Regions from separate parts of the Homo sapiens genome. Here region 2 is linked to region 1. Evidence: promoter capture Hi-C in human tissues and cell types (Jung and others, 2019). All regions are on one chromosome and are shown on one strand. Each heading gives the region's core, a stretch centred on a gene start or on the middle of the fragment in contact. The rest is flanking DNA. Distances are from core to core; before and after follow the strand shown. Region 1 holds the start of MED27 (mediator complex subunit 27). Region 2 overlaps MED27 (mediator complex subunit 27).

Region 1 (3,315 bases), core at 273-2,772:
CTTATGTTTACATTAATGAATTGTTTAAAATTTTTTGGTAAAATATACATAATATAAAATCAACCATTTTCACTGTTTCTAAGTGTCCAGTTCTGTGGCATTAAGTACAATCACATTGTTGTATGGCCATCACCACCATCCAGCTGTAAAACTTTTCCAAGTCTGTACTCTTTAAGTACAGACTTAAATATGGCCCTTTGCAATATTATGCTGAAATCTTCCTCTCTACAGCCTTCCTACAACTGGTTATTGTTATTGCCACTAGTTAACCAAGGAGGACTCTTGTCTTGGGTTGACATGAAGGTGAGTTGAAGGTCACAATCATGATCTGCCTCCTGCTCTCCTCTTCTCTGCTCCAAGCTATGCAACCCCAGCTCCTCTAAGGAAAGAACATGAGGACTTGGGCAGGTTCCCTTTAGTAAAAAGATAATAAATTTTCAGAAACCTGTCTATAGCCAACAGGACAAAGAGACATTGAATTTTTCCATAAAGCCAGATTTGGCCAACATTTTGTTGGTTTTATTTAAATCCCAAACCTTCTCTTTCTTCCACAACCTCTATGCTATGTATGTTATTTTCAGAGGTGTGTGTTCACTGTAAACCAGCCACCATTCTACTTTCTGTCTCTAACATTTTGACTACCCTAAACACCTCATATAAGTGGAGTCACACAGAATTTTGTTTTTTTGTGACTGGCTTATTTCACTTAGCATAATGTCTTCAAGTTTCCTCCAGGTAGCATATGTCAGAATTTTCTTGCTTAAGCCTGAAGAATTTTTCATTGTATGCCAGTATCACACTTTGTTTATTCATCAGTTTATGGACACTTGGGTTTCCCCTGCCTTTTGGCTATTTGGTGAATAATGCTGTTATGAACATGTGTACAGGTATTGAGTCCCTGCTTTCGCTTCTTTTGGGTATATGCCCAGAAGTGGAATCTCTGGATCATTATTTTCCTCTTCTTAATTAATAAGCATCTTGGGGGACGATACTTTGAGATTACCTAAAAAGCCTGTTATTTTTCTGACACTTTCACCCACTAGTTTTAGCATCCATCGATTTCTATCTGAATCAATTATTCTAATGGCTGTCAAATGGCAATTTTCTAATTCCATCACTCTTTCTGCATTTATGAGCTGGCATTCTATTGGAAAGAAGAAACTTTCCTTCTCCCCGCTTTATTTATGAATATGGACTCATTTTATTGAATGGGCTATGTTCCTTTCCTTTTTACACTATTGCTCTGAGCAATTCTTTTCCCTATGATTCCCCAGAGTGCAAGTTTGGGGAAATGCGGGAACTTTCTGTATTTCTTTGTCACCATTAAGCAAACCGGGAGTGCAACCTGACTTCCCCAAGTTGAGAAAAATCACTTTCCTGCCCATGCATTAGTTTAGCTCAAGGGGAAACCCTTTTTCGAAAGTGCTTTCTGGGTAGCCCCGCGCGAACTGCATTTCCCAGAGGTCTTCGGAGATACGTCATCAGCGAGCGCGGCTTTTTTGCTTGCGAAGCCGGCTTTGGAGAGCTGCTGTGGCGGCGGCAACATGGCGGACGTGATAAATGTCAGTGTGAACCTGGAGGCCTTTTCCCAGGCCATTAGTGCCATCCAGGCGCTGCGCTCCAGCGTGAGCAGGGTGTTCGACTGCCTGAAGGATGGGATGCGGAACAAGGAGACGCTGGAGGGCCGGGAGAAGGCCTTTATTGCGCACTTCCAGGACAACTTACATTCGGTCAACCGGGACCTCAAGTAGGTACCGGCTGAAGGGGCCGGGGTCGGGGACCGGCCCCGCTCCGACCCTGCCCCTACGTCGCTCGAGTCTTCCCAGGCAGGGGCTGTTCTCCGTTTCCCTTGATCCCTGTTCTTTCTCTTCTTGTTCTCCAAGCCTCTGCCTGTCCCTCAGGGACATCTTAACACCATCCCCGCTTTCTCGTCTTGCTTCTCCTGGCCTCCTGGTCCTGTTTGTCTTCCGCCATCCTCGACCTCTTCTGTGGCGGTTCCATTCCTAACAAGGAGGCATGCTTTTCCCATGAACTTCCACTTCTCTGAGCTTGGCAGGTTTCTCACCTGTAGGCCCTCTGTGCCCCATCACGTCTGATCCGAATGTAGTAATAGTACAGACAGGACCTGGTCAGTCGGCTCCAAACCCAAGTGCACCCGATCTGATTAGCCCCAATTCCCCGGCCCTGAACTTGGACTTCATCAGTTCCACCACCACCCACCCGCAACCACGACGGACCGGCCAGGCCTTGAGCTGTCTTCACCTTTTCCCCTAACCGCTCCCAAACCACCTGATCAGTTTCCTCACTCCCACTCCTGTGGGAGTTCCTTCCGCAGTAGAGACCTACTCTCTAATCTCTTAACCAGTTTAATTACTTATGCTTAACGCCCCTGCTTCTTAATTTGTAGTCTTTTAGGGTTAAGGATTCCACTTTTCCTCCTCTTCCTTACAAAGTACCTTCTTCACTTACACTTTTTAAGTGTTGTAAGAATTAAATGAGAGGATGTTTGTAAAGGGCCTGGCACATAGTAGGCACTTCTTGATTGCTTAGGTCCTGAACTTGCCTTCTGTTTTATAAGAGAGTCAGTCCTTCCCAGGAAGGTTAGAATTTCAGGATTTTTGCCTTTTACTTCTCAGAACTGACCTGAGTAGGGGAAAGCATTTGGTGAGCTAGTCATCCTTTGATTTCTGGACTGGTTGGATTTTTGTTTTTTCAACTTGGTCTCCTTAGTAACCAGATGGAAAGAGGAGGTAGGATGGAGGAGGAGGAGGAGGAGGTGGCCAAATGATGGGTGCCTTTTTGTTTTCCCCCTAAGTAGTTGCCGTAAATCACACAGCCCTCCTCAACGCCCACATCCGCTTGCTGTTCTCTGGCACCGCGCCGAGCACCAGTTAATACTTTCTCTGCTTCAGGGGATGCACTGGCTATTCTTCCCTATCTTCTGTTTTCTTTCCATTTTCTCTCCGAGTTACTTCCCTTTGTAATGTTCAGGATATTATAACCCTTCACCATTTTAAATAGAAACTTTAAGAGTGCTGACATTATCCTTTTGCCTTCTTAAATCTTTGTACAGTAGTGCCAAGAAGAAGGTGGCTGATGATTCCAAAATGAATGTGGCATAAGAAGCTGTTCCTAGAGAGTCTTTTGTTGGCAGTTTGGGACTGGCCCCTCAGAACGTACTCCTGGAATGTGCTCTTGTTGGCTCGCTTTCCCAAGCTTCTCTAGGGTTTTCCTGCTAGACTGAAGTGTGTTTGTTTGACACAGCCACCTCAGTGGTGTCTTCCCATTCCATTTGTTTATTTTATCTCTTCTTTG
Region 2 (3,339 bases), core at 187-2,686, 47 kb after region 1:
CTAATAAAGGTAATCACTTGTTTTCTGCTTCAGATCTGTTTATATTTATGAGACCTAATGATATGTTATGCCTTTGGGGAAGAGAGGAAAAATTCCTCTTGATTCTTGAGCTGGGGGAGGGGGAGAGCAGTAAGCCACATTCTTTATTCCCATATGTTTAATAAAGATTGCAGCGGTACTCATGACTCCTCATCTATTCATACGGGGCTGTATTGGTGCTGTGTTGCTGCTTCTGAGATTGGCACTGTTATATTATTAATAGTACTGATCACACATGCCTCGCATTTAATACAGAACATAAGAGCCTCACCTGGCATGAATGAAAAATCTCAAATTGAAAGTGTAGATACTATAAAATTTTTAAAGAAGGGAATACATTATGGTTGAACTTTCAAAATACAAATAGTGTATTTTTAATAACCAAGTTATGAATGTCCTTGGATTCTTGTGTTAGGGAGGTGGAGAAAGGAAAGAAAGTGGCTTCCTCTTACCTTTATGCGAAATAGAATCTGGAGACACACAGAACACCAAAGATCTAAGTTACACTGACAAAAGCAAAAACAAAAAGCCCAAATCCACACCGGAGTTTAGGAAGGCAGCATTCCGTTATTAACTCATCCAGTTATGCCAATAATGGCAGAGATCTCAGAACAGTTGGAAGTTTATATACACAAATGTATGTGCTGAAATACCACACTCTGATGACATTCGATGGAGAGGTAACCTTTGATGATGAATTTTCTTGCCCTTTTTAGGGGAGTGAAAGGGGAGGCGGGTGGTACTTCACAAGACTCTAAATTTACCAAAGTTTTTCAAATTTAAATTTTCTTAGAAAAAAATGTCAAATGATTGTAGATCCAAAAATGCCTTTGTTGGCATTTTAATGGTGCTTTTTGAGCCCAGTATGGAGTGTAAGTGAAAAGAAAAGCAGTTTCTTTCTTGGTAATGTGGTATTGAATCCGAAGCCTCGGACCATACAATGTCCCAGGAAGCTTCGTGATTTATATATTGTATGTGATCTTTTCTTAAACATTGTTAACCTGTGCCCTTTACAGACAATACCAGGTCAGAAAATGTCAGGGGAGCTTTGGATTGCCTTCATAATTGTGTAAAGAAAATTATTGTCCTCAAAATCCAGAGACTATGACAGGCGTTCTTAATAGAGTGATATGTTTAGAGACACAAACAGCATGTATGGGGCTGCTTTTAGCTGGCGGGGTAGGAAAAATATTTGAGTGATATTTTACTTTTGGTTCAGACCAATTGTGGATAAGAAAAAATGTTGCTACCTGTCAGGCTGTTGTAGACACCTATTAAATTTGTTGGAAAGGTGAATTCTCAAAGCAGGAAGCCTTTTGAAATGCTTATTCACACTCAGACAATTTATTATAGACCTAGAGAGAGGCTTAGTGTGGAGCGCGGGACTAGGTGATCCCCATGAGAAGAGTGGCTTGGGCGCAGGGCTGTGAGAGGGAGGGGCAGGGGAGGCCAAGAGAGTGGCTAGGTGACAAGAGCCATCACTTAAAGCCAGTGGAAGCAGGAAGTGGGCCCTGGTGATCTGTGGCATTCTGCATTCCTTCCTGACTGGCTCTGCCTCCTGGGACCTGTCAACCCCTCAAGTTAGTTAAGAGCTACATTTGGGAACGAACACATTCTGTTACAATCCTATTTGCTTAGGTGCAAATGAAAATGTGTCTTCTTGTTCCTCTTATCATTTAGGTCATTAAAGAACAAGATTTAAGTGAAAATGAGAAAAGAGACAGTTCTTTGGCAGAGCAGAAACTGTGTAACTATTTTCAACCCCTGTGTTTTGAAACAACAGTGGTTTACTTCAGCTCTTTCAGAAAGAAGAAAAAAAAATCAAATGTGTGGGCTTGACAGGTGGTTTTGCCAAAGTACAGACCAGAGTTGCATTCAGAGTGCCACATCATTTCTTCTCAAAAAGTTCACTTTCTCGGTAAACACCAAATAAGAACCTATAAAAAGGAGCCTAAAAACATGATTTTATTTCATGAGACTTAAAATGCCTTGCCTGTCTAATTTTTCTATGGTTTTTCAGCTTTCAAGGTGGTTGGCATTACGTTCTTTATCTTTATTTGCAGCCAAGGTGGGCTCGGCTCGTGGGCTTGTGGCAGAGCCGTCCCCCGTGCCCAGGCTCCCATGGCATGCAGCTAGCAGCGGCCAAGCTTAGCGCCTCGCCTACCACATCCACCTTCTGATGGCAGTGCCCACCAGTGGAACGAACTCTCTCCACACCTCATTATTTCTACAACCTTGAGTGAATTTGCAAATTAATTGATGTGTGGGAGGGAAGGCATCTGCTATTGTAAAAACCTTTAACTGTGGCAGTAAAACTTGAAATAAAATTAAGTGTTACTATAGTAAACTAATAGTCACCAGGTGATAAAGCACATTTTGTAGTGTGTAGGGGCTTCCATTTTCAGGATCTGTTTAACTTTGAGGCCCTGTTTTTTTTTTCCTGGTATAGTTTTTATTTTCATCCAAGGAACATAAGTACGTAGTTTAAAAGGCAAATAAATAATACTACAAGATTTATACCAGATGTGTTGGTCTTGCCCAACTCTGCTATGCCACTCCTCAGAGGCAACTCCTTTTAAGTCTGTATTTCATTGTTTATTTTTTTTAGAGGAGGGGTCAGGCTGGACTGTAACTCCTGGGCTCAAGTGATCTCCCACTTCAACCTCTCTGAATAGCTGGGACTCAGGTGTGCCCCACCATACCTGGCTTCTCTTAACTCTTTTAGCTCTTTCCTTGGATACTTGCCCACATTTTCCTAAATAACCTGCTTAGACTGCTGTTTTAGAAGTTATCTGTTGCCTCTGCCATGGAAGATGAAGATTTAACTTTTATAGACCACCATCTTCCCACTGCATTGCTTTAATTGATACTTGGTTTTTACATTATTATGACTATGAAATGTTTTTTATAGTGGAGACATGTAGGATACTGTGATTGCTATTTCTGTTGGTGAAGGCTGAGGTAGAGGGTAGCTCACCATTTAGTGTGCAGATTTATCCACCTGTTTTCAGCTGTCCCTAAACCCTGAGCCTCTAGGACAGCCTCTCCAGAGAGGACACCACCTGGCTTCTGATGGAGCAGGGATCTGGGTGTTCAAGAAAGATTTAACCAGTCCATCTGTTTTATGCCTACTTGACACCTGGCCTTCCAGGCCACCGAGTGTCCCCACTTCCTCAGTCTTTGGAAATTCTGCAGTGCAGTTCAGCTTGCTTTTTAAAAATCGACTTCTCCCACCCTCCCAACCTTCCCTTCTGTTCAGGGTAGGTGTTTAGTATACTTCACTCTGCAAAGGTAGTGCTG

Evidence for each region. The method cuts DNA at HindIII sites, captures the fragments that hold promoters and counts their contacts. A contact is called where the count stands out against the background at its distance.
Region 2: a contact is called between a fragment that was not itself captured here and the fragment with the promoter of MED27 in region 1, in 1 of the 25 tissues and cell types used here (dorsolateral prefrontal cortex).

The regions. Positions count from the first base shown.
Region 1 is chr9:132,078,074-132,081,388 of GRCh38, reverse strand. It overlaps MED27 (mediator complex subunit 27), which reads left to right and starts at 1,522. Exons shown (of 8, transcript NM_004269.4): 1 at 1,522-1,747. The coding sequence starts at 1,545. RefSeq lists an enhancer at 1,346-1,625. The HindIII fragment of the contact is 14,332 bases long and covers 1-3,315 here.
Region 2 is chr9:132,030,933-132,034,271 of GRCh38, reverse strand. All of the region lies in intron 2 of MED27 (mediator complex subunit 27), which reads left to right. Among named protein-coding and RNA genes, the nearest start is that of MED27, 47 kb to the left of the region's middle. The HindIII fragment of the contact is 4,380 bases long and covers 1-3,339 here.